Regions from separate parts of the Homo sapiens genome. Here region 2 is linked to region 1. Evidence: promoter capture Hi-C in 16 types of primary human blood cells and fetal thymus (Javierre and others, 2016). All regions are on one chromosome and are shown on one strand. Each heading gives the region's core, a stretch centred on a gene start or on the middle of the fragment in contact. The rest is flanking DNA. Distances are from core to core; before and after follow the strand shown.

Region 1 (4,938 bases), core at 1,416-3,915:
GCCCAGGCTGGAGTGCAGTGGCGTGATCTCGGCTCACTGCAAGCTCCGCCTCCCGGGTTCATACCATTCTCCTGCCTCAGCCTCCCAAGTAGCTGGGACTACAGGCGCCCGCCACCACGCCTGGCTAATTTTTTGTATTTTTAGTAGAGACGGTGTTTCACCGTATTAGCCAGGATGGTCTCAATCTCCTGACCTCGTGATCCGCCCGCCACGGCCTCCCAAAATGCTGGGATTACAGGCGTGAGCCACTGCGCCCGGCCTGTATTTTTTAATAGAGATGGGATTTCACCATGTTGGCTAGTCTGGTCTCGAACTCCCCACCTCAGGTGATCCACCCGCCTCAGCTTCCCAAAATGTTGGAATTACAGGTGTGAGCCACTTCGCTCGGCATTCCTATCTTATTAAAGCCATGGCCTGGTCGGGCGTGGGCGACAGAGCAAGACTCTGTCTCAAAAAAAAAAAAAAAAAAAAAAAAAGGCCGGGCACGGTGGCGGGCGCCTGTAGTCCCAGCTACTCGGGAGGCTGAGGCAGGAGAATGGCGTGAACCCGGGAGGCGGGGCTTGCAGTGAGCCGCGATAGCGCCACTGCACTCTGGCCTGGGCGAGTGAGACTCCGTCTCAAAAAAAAAATTAAAAAAAAATTAAAATAAATAAATAAATAAAAAAGCCATGGCTTGATTTGCACAATTGCCATCCTGATACCCCACCTACCTGCTCTCCCCTGCTCTGTACCACACCAGGCACGCTCTCACCTCTGGGCCTTAGCATCTGCTGTGCCTCCCAGCTGGTGTGCTTTTCCCCATATAACCACAAGTCTCCCTCCCTCACCTTTAGGTCTCAAATCAAATGTCACCTCTTCAGGGAGGCCCTCCCTGCCTTTGCGTTTCTTTTTCTTTTCTTTTCTTTTCTTTTTTTTTTTTTTTTGAGACAGAGTCTCACTCTGTTGCCCAGGCTGGAGTACAATGGCGCGATCTCGGCTCCTGCGACCTCCGCCTCCTGGGTTCAAGCGATTCTCCTGTCTCAGCCTCCTGAGTAGCTGGGATTACAGGTGCGTGCCACCAGGCGCAGCTAATTTTTTTTTTTTTTTTTTTTTTTTTGAGACGGAGTCTCGCTGTCGCCCAGGCTGGAGTGCAGTGGCGCAATCTCGGCTCACTGCAGGCTCCGCCCCCTGGGGTTCACGCCATTCTCCTGCCTCAGCCTCCCGAGTAGCTGGGACTACAGGCGCCCGCCACCTCGCCCGGCTAATTTTTTATATTTTTGGTAGAGACGGGGTTTCACCATGTTGGTCAGGCTGGTCTTGAACTCCTGACCTCGTGATCCGCCCACCTCAGCCTCCCAGAGTGCTGGGATTACAGGTGTGAGCCACCGCGCCCGGCTTTTTGCCTTTCCGTTTCAATGGCTCATCTGGTCAGTCCTCTACCACTCTAAAAAGATTTAACTATTGGCGGAGAGCAGGAGCTCACGCCTGTAATCCCAGCACTTTTGGAGGCCAAGGCAGAAGGATCCGTTGAGCCCAGGAATTCGGGACCAGCCTGGGCAACAAAGCAAGAACCCCAACATAAAAAAAAAAATCTGTATTTAAAAGCCAAACACAAATAACAAACAAAAAACACCAGCCTGGGCAACATAGTGAAACCTCATATCTACTAAAAACACAAATTAGCCGGGCGTGGTGGTGCGCCCTGTAGTCCCAGCTACTCGGGAGGCTGAGGCAGGAGGATCACTTGAGCCCGGGAAGTCGAGGCTGCAGTGAGCTGTGATCGCGCCACTGCACGCCGGCCCGGGTGACAGGAGTGAGACCCTGACTCAAAAATAAATACATATATAAATAAAAATTAACTATTGTCTCTGGCCCCAGACCATAGGTGTCCCTGCAGCAGGGGCCGACTGGCGTGCTCTCCACTCGGGCCCCTCTAGGAGGTGCTAAGTAAATATTTGAACGAAGACCTCTGAGTCCCTGTCTGGCTGCGACTATGTCCTCTCAGGCCTTCCCACGTGGCAGCTGCAGGCTCCTTTCCTGCTGGCTCAGTCTGAGCCCGGCAGGGTGATCCCTTCCTCATCCACTCCGTCTCTCCGTTTCCCTTTCTTCACGGTGCTTGACACTATCTAATATTATTTGGTTGTTTGAATGTGCGCGTCCAGCTCCCAGGACGCTCCCTGCACACAGTGAATGAATAAATGAATGAAATAAAGCGCCCAGCTCGTAGTAAGGGCCAATGAATGTCTATTAGTAGTGGAACCTCGGATTGGGTGGCTCCAGCCCTGCCTCCCTTCCCTCAGGAGGCGCCGAGGTCCCAGAGCAGCCCGCGCGACCCTGCCCCTGACCTTTCTCCCTGGGTCAGTTAAACCAGCCTTCTTTCCCGCCTGCCGGGTTCATTTGAAAACCGAAAACCCCGCCATTGCCGGCGGTCCACCGGTTGCCACACTCTGACCAATCAGGAGCGACGCGTTTCACGCCGAGCCCGAAGTTTCCCCGGCGACGCGCAGCCACTGGTTATGCAGGCCCTGTGGGCGGAACGCCGTAAGGTCGCGCGCCGGGCAACGCGGTGCCGCTACACAGTAGCGAGTTTGTAAGAAAACAAATCAGTTGCGTTCGGGGCGTGGCCGGGAGCACGTTGGCTCCGCCCCCTGGCGGCTGCCTCAGCGGCGGCGGCGGCGCAGGCTCAGAGCAGACCCCGCCCGGCGAGGAGGAGGGAGGGTGAGTTAGGGGGAGACCCGGCCCCCAAGGGGCGGGCGCCGGGCAGGGCCCCGCGGGCGGCCGAGGGTTGGGCCCGGCTCCCAGCCCCTCGCCGTCCTCCGGCTGACAGGGGGAGGAGCCCGCCGGGAGGGCCGGGGTCTCGGGCTGGGGAGCCGGGACGGGAGAGCAGCGCAGCCGGGTGCACCGCGGCCGCGCCCCGGGAGGGCTGTTCGGGCCAGCGCCCGCCGGCTGCTCCGCGCTGACAGCGCCGGGCTGGGGCGGGGCGGGGGGCTTTGCAGGCCGCCAGTGTCGACATGCTGCTGGAGGAGGTTCGCGCCGGCGACCGGCTGAGTGGGGCGGCGGCCCGGGGCGACGTGCAGGAGGTGCGCCGCCTTCTGCACCGGGAGCTGGTGCATCCCGACGCCCTCAACCGCTTCGGCAAGACGGCGCTGCAGGTGAGGCCGGGCCGGTCCAGGTTGGGGCGGGGCGGCTAAGCGGGATGAGGATCGAGACCCCAGAGCTCCTCTCTGGTCTCCTGGCCCTGGTGGTGACCCACTGGGAACCGGTCCTTCTTCTCTAGGCTTTCATTGTTCCCCCACAGTCCCCCTTCGAAGGTGGGTGGTGGGTGAGGCTAGGTTGTGGGGGGAGGGGAGAGCTTTTTAGCATCTTCTCTGGGAGGATTCCTGGTTCTCTGAGTGCCGGGGATTCACTTTCCCTGGGGAGGTTCTTATTCCGTGGGTGCGGGTTCAGCTCCTTTGGATGCCGTTTCCATGGGGACGGCTCACGTTTCTTGGGGCTTCTATGGGGAGATCCGATCTCTGGAAGGAGAGGTCCTGTCTCTAGGGGTTCCTCATTTTGTAGGGGGCTCTCTGAGACAAATCTGGTTACTTGGGGGTGGGGTCTTCATTCCTAAAGGTTATGCGGATCCTTGATATAGTATGGGGGCCCCAATGGAGGAACAATGTCAGATTGCAAGACATCCCTATATTCCCTGGGAGACATTTTACAGGGAAGTCTCGTTTCTCTTTTATTATTACTTTTGGAATCCCGCTTCTTGAAAGGAGCTCTCAGGTACTCTGAGGTGACATCACCATTATGTAGGAGGAGGCTATTTCCTGGAGAAGGGGTTCGCTTTCCTTTGACATCTTTTTTCCCTTATGAGGACTATCAATTCTTTGGGGGTAGTTCTCCATCTCTGGGGGCCCATTTCCTGGAGGGGATTTTCTGTTTCCTGGTGATTGCCCATATCTGGGGGCGTCTTTGGTCCCTTGGGGGAGAGTCTTAGGTTCCTTGAAAGTTTCCATGGGGGGCTGTTCTCTGGGTTGGGGGGTCTCATTCTTAAGGGAGTGACCAGCTTTTGGGGGGGGTCCCTATTCCCAGAAGAACTTTCCTGGGGGCTTATGCAGCTTCTCCGTTCACTAGAGGACCCCTCCTCTAGCATTTCCTGTTTCTGGGAGATGCCTCTTTCTGGATGACCCTTCTCTTTCCAGTGACCCCTTTTGTGGAACCTCCTCCCTTGAGGACCTCCTGATCCTCTGTCCCTCACACAGGTCATGATGTTTGGCAGCACCGCCATCGCCCTGGAGCTGCTGAAGCAAGGTGCCAGCCCCAATGTCCAGGACACCTCCGGTACCAGTCCAGTCCATGACGCAGCCCGCACTGGATTCCTGGACACCCTGAAGGTCCTAGTGGAGCACGGGGCTGATGTCAACGTGCCTGATGGCACCGGGGCACTTCCAATCCATCTGGCAGTTCAAGAGGGTCACACTGCTGTGGTCAGCTTTCTGGCAGCTGAATCTGATCTCCATCGCAGGGACGCCAGGGGTCTCACACCCTTGGAGCTGGCACTGCAGAGAGGGGCTCAGGACCTCGTGGACATCCTGCAGGGCCACATGGTGGCCCCGCTGTGATCTGGGGTCACCCTCTCCAGCAAGAGAACCCCGTGGGGTTATGTATCAGAAGAGAGGGGAAGAAACACTTTCTCTTCTTGTTTCTCCTGCCCACTGCTGCAGTAGGGGAGGAGCACAGTTTGTGGCTTATAGGTGTTGGTTTTGGGGGTGTGAGTGTTTGGGGGACGTTTCTCATTTGTTTTTCTCACTCCTTTTGGTGTGTTGGACAGAGAAGGGCTCCTGCAGGCCACAGCCACCTAAACGGTTCAGTTTCTTCTGCGCCTCAGGCTGCTGGGGCCTCAGACGAGACCCAAGGGCAGAGCATTTAAGAGTGAAGTCATGACCTCCAGGGAGCCTAGAAGCTGGTGGCCTT
Region 2 (4,811 bases), core at 1,909-4,408, 640 kb after region 1:
GCAGGGGACGGGACTCACGTGAGAGTGACTGACGGGGACGCGTGTGAAATGCTGTGGGGGTGCAGGGTAAACGTGTGTGTCTTTGTGTCGTGGTTGGGTGTGACCGGGGGGAGTTTGTGTGTGTGGCGGTTGGGGGGCTTGTCCAACTAGTGCCCGAGTTGGGGTGTGATCAGTACGTGAGACAGAGTCTGTGTGTGACCGTGTCCTCATTACTGGCTCCAGATGACTGGGTGTTGTACAATACGTGTGTGGCCAGGTGTGTGGCCGTGTGAGAGCCTTGGAGTGAGCGTGTGCTATTCTGTACCTTTGGGTAAATCACTCTAAAAGGGTGTGTGTGTGTGCAAGCGCTGTGTGTGCAAACGTGTCCATCCATGCACGTGTGTGTGTGTATCTTGGTGCCTTGCTCACAACCGCACACGCCATTCATACCCTTACAGAAGCGGGTCTCCCTCCCCATGGCACCTTTCTCTTGGGCAGGCTCAGGGAGGCTTGCAAAATGTGGGGCGTCCACGCTCTCTTTTGCTATTGGAAAGCCCCTCTCCTCCTCCATCTTGGGAGTGAGAGCACCCCCAAGTTCTCAGATCTGTAGGAGTTCACAGGGAAGCTGGGATCAAAAATAATAAAATAGTCATTATGATAACAGTGATCATTCATTACGTGCTAATTTGAGAGGTGCTGTTTCAATCACACAGCACAGACTAAGGCATTTAACCCCCTCTGCCTCCTCCCTACTAGAGCATGGTATTGTTACCTCATTTTATGGATGGGGAAACTGAGGCGCAGAAAAGTTAAATCACTTGCTCAAGCTCGAGAGTGACAGAGGTGGGACTGAACCGAGGCAGTCCGGCTCCTGAGCCCACACGATTACCCTCTTGTTAAATAATCCGCTCCATGGGTGTGGACAGCGTCCGTGAAGACATTGCTAGGTGGGCTTTTAGGTAGATAGGCAGGGGAGAAACAATTTGGGCACCTTCCCCTTATCAAGAAAAGAATCAGACCCTTGTGCTCACCCCGAGGGGGGTGTTGGGAGGAATGGAGGTTAGACTCCAGATAGAAGGATTTCCAGGCCACGAGGAGAGATTGTGGGGTCCCCTCCCTCGCTCCTCCATTTCCCCACGCATCTCAGCACCCACGCGCTGGGTGGGATAGGGAGTGTGCCCAGCCCCAGGCATGAGGACACACACAATAGGTACTCAATGGATGTGTGAGCCTGAGAGAAGCCAAGAGACACACCTGGGAGACGAGAGACCAAAAGAGGCACACACTTGAGAAACCAGTGGAAAAAAAATGAGCCAGGAATCAAGTTGAATTATCCTTGACCTAGCAGAGGAGACAGAGAACCACCCCCTGTGGCTTCTCCTCCACTCCCTGCTAGGGGGGCACTAGATTTTCTGGCTTCTCACCAAGATTGGCTAGGATGCCAGAGTTTGCTGCCAGAATTGCAATTGGAGGGTGACTCCTACAGCCCCCAGGGCTGGGAGGGAGTTGCTTTGGGGGCGGGACTAACGAGGTCAGTGGAGGCGGGGCTAAAGGACAACGGGGGCGTGGCCAAATGAGGTAATCCGTTAGGGCGGGGCTGGTGGAATCCTGCCGCGGGCTGCAGTGCCTCCAGGCGGCCACCGCGGGAACTACATGGTTGTGAAACAGTCTCGGCGCCCCATACACCCCCTTGGCGTTGGCCCACCAAGCCTGGCACCCCAGGGAAGGGAGGGGTCTGCAGAGAGGATGCTCTACCCACTCTTCGCTCCCTCCATCACTTTCCAAAGACTTCTTCCCTGTCCCTGATGGGCCCAGGGGTCCTTCCTAGAAATCATTGGTTAATCCATTCAATGAACAGATATGATTATGCACTGGGGATACAGCCACCAACTGAGTCATCAAATCCCTGCTCTCCTGGAGTTGACCTAGCAGAGGAGACAGAAAAGAGCCGAATAACCATGTAATACGGTGTCGGCAACTAAATATACATATAATACAATGCAAGTAGCATGAAGAATAACAGATAAAGTATAGAAGATTAGACTGGAGCCGGGTGCTGTGGCTCACGCCTGTAATCCCAGCATTTTGGGAAGTTGAGGCAAGTGGATCGCCTGAGGTCAGGAGTTCGAGACCAGCCTGGCCAACATAGTGAAACCCTGTCTCTACTAAAAATACAAAAAATTAGCTGGGTGTGGTGGCAGGCGCCTGTAATCCCAGCTACTAGGGAGGCTGAGGCAGGAGAATTGCTTGAACCTGGGAGGCAGAGGTTGCGGTGAGCTGCGATCGCCATTGCACTCCAGCCTGGACAACAAGAGTGAAACTCTGTCTCAAAAAAAAAAAAAAAAAAAAAAGATTAGAGTGATAGCAGTCGGGCATGGAGGCTCACGCCTGTAATCCCAGCACTTTGGGAGGCCAGGGTGAGTGGATCACTTGAGGTCAGGAGTTTGAGACCAGCCCGGCCAACATGGTGAAACCCCGTCTCTACTAAAAATGCAAAAAATTAGCCAGGTGTGGTGTTGCACACCTGTAGTCCCAGCTATTCAGGAGGCTGAGGCAGGCGAATTGCTTGAACCTGGGAGGCAGAGGTTCCAGTGAGCCAAGGTCATGCCACTGCACTCCAGCCTAGGCAACAGAACAAGACTGTCTCAAAGCAAAAAAACAGAAAAAGATTACAAGGTGGGGGCTATTTGAGCCAGTGTGGTCAGGGAAGGTGTCTCTAAGGAAGTAGTGTTTCAGGTGACATCTGAAGGAGGTGAGAGAGGGAGCCTTGTGGGTGTCTGGGGGAAGAGCATTGAAGGTGGGAGGAACAGAAGGTGCAAAGGCCCTGGGGTAAGAACAAGCTTGGTGAGTTTCAGAAGCAGTGTGGACGCTGGTGTGGCTGGAGAGGTCGCGGGGAGATGAGGCCGGGGAAGCCAGACCACTTAGGAACTTGTAAGCTGTGGGCAGAAGTTTGGATTTGACCCAGAGAGCAGGAGAACAGGAAAGCAGGGCCTGTCAGAGGCATTGTCCATTCATCCAGGATCTATCCAAGATGTTCTGGGTTCTGGCCTGGGAGTGACTACCAGAGAGCTTGACAGTTCTGAGCCCCACTATTTTCCTTGTGGAAAAGATGCCTTCCTGATCCCTGCGAAGGCCTCCCTAAGATCTAGCTACATCGTTGGCACTATCTGGGTTTGGGACCAACTCTTTCCTGGGGCTTTCAGAGGATGGGGAGAAGGAATAATTCAGTTTAGATCACGTGCCTCAGGGACTTCACACTTGCTGTTCCCTCTGCCTGTGACACTGTTCCCCCTGGTAGCTATTTATCTCTGATTTCTGCTTAAATGTCACCTCCTCCAAGAGGCTCACCCTGAACAGCTAAGTGAAATAGCCCCCTGCTGCCACTCTCTGAGTGCTTACTCCGTGTTCTTTTTCTTTCTCTCTCTTTCTTTCTTTTTTTTTTTTTTTTTGAGACTGAGTCTCACTCTGTTGCCTGGGCTGGAGTGCAGTGGCGCAATCTCGGCTCACTGCAAGCTTTGCCTCACCGGTTCAAGTGATTCTCGTGCCTCAGCCTCCCGAGTAGCTGGGACTACAGGCACGTGCCACCTGATGCCCAGCTAGTTTTTGTTGTATTTTTAGTAGAGACAGGGTTTCACCATGTTGGCCAGGCTGGTCTTGAACTCCTGACCTCAGGTGATCTGCCGCCCAAAGTGCTGGGATTATAGGCATGAGCCACCACGCCCGGCCATATTTTTCTTTATAGCCCTCGTTTCCACATTTCTATGATTCTTCTATTCATTCATTCTCTGTTTCCCCACTAGAGCGGCAGTTTATCAGGGTTCAGCTAGCTTTGTTGTTTCTCCAGTGTCTAGAGCAGAGCCTGACACACAGTAGGTGCTCAAGAAATATCTGCTGAATGGATGAATGGATGGATGGATGGACCCCCTCACACACACAGAGTGTCTTTCTTTCTCAAACCACAGGATTCTTTTATCAAGAGAGTGTCAGGGGAACACTCGCTCCTGGATGGAAGGCACCAAGAAAATCCATTCTTCAGGCCAGGTGTGATGGCTGATACCTATGATCCCAGCATTTTGGGAGACCAAAGCCAGAGGGTCTCTTGAGGCCAGGAATTTGAGACCAGCCTGGGCAATACAGCAAGATCCCATCTCTACAATAACTTTTTCTTTTTATTTCTTTTTTTTTTTTTATTTTTGAGATGGAGTCTTGTTCTGTCACCCATGCTGGAGTACAGTACAGTATTGTGATGATCTCAGCTCACTGCAACCTCTGCCTCCCGGGCTCAAGAGATTCTAGTGCCTCAGCCTCCCGAGTAGCTGGGACTACAGGGGCGTGCCACCACACCCAGCTAATTTTTGTATTTTTAGTAGAGATGGGGTTTCACCATTTTGGCCAGGCTGGTCTCGAACTCCTGACATCTTGATTTGTCTGCCTCGGCCTCCTAAACTGCTGGGATTACAGGCGTGAGCCACCGTGCCCGGCCTCTGCAGTAACTTTAAAAAAAATTGGCCAGGCTTGTAGTTCTACTCAGGAGGCTGAGGTGTGAAGATCACTTGAGCCCAGGAGTTTGAGGCTGCAGTGAGCTATCATTGCACTACTGCACTCCAGCTTGGGCGACAGACTGAGACCCTGTCTCCACAAAAAAGAAAGAAAGAAAACCCATCTTCTTTACCTGTGCCTGACATTCCACCGATAGGGCACTGTTGTTTAGGGGTAAGACGATGTTCTCCTGGGGCTCCTTTAGAGCATGTAAATGTCCCAGTGGAGGGAAGTAAAAGGAAATTTAAAGACTCCGAGTTAGTGTAGGAAAGAGCCCCTTGGGGCTGGATTTA

Evidence for each region. Contacts are between HindIII fragments. The CHiCAGO score rates a contact against its expected background, and 5 or more counts as called.
Region 2: a fragment that was not itself captured here is called in contact with the fragment with the promoter of CDKN2D in region 1 in 1 of 17 cell types (activated CD4 T cells); the score reaches 5.8 in activated CD4 T cells.

Annotation. Positions count from the first base shown.
Region 1 is chr19:10,566,706-10,571,643 of GRCh38, reverse strand. It overlaps CDKN2D (cyclin dependent kinase inhibitor 2D), which reads left to right and starts at 2,665. Exons shown (of 2, transcript NM_001800.4): 1 at 2,665-3,131; 2 at 4,227-4,938. The coding sequence starts at 2,991. The coding sequence ends at 4,586. RefSeq lists a silencer at 2,399-3,048 and enhancers at 3,329-3,498, 3,938-4,445. The HindIII fragment of the contact is 9,110 bases long and covers 1-4,938 here.
Region 2 is chr19:9,931,072-9,935,882 of GRCh38, reverse strand. All of the region lies in intron 1 of OLFM2 (olfactomedin 2), which reads left to right. Among named protein-coding and RNA genes, the nearest start is that of OLFM2, 3.0 kb to the left of the region's middle. RefSeq lists an enhancer at 1-112. The HindIII fragment of the contact is 673 bases long and covers 2,822-3,494 here.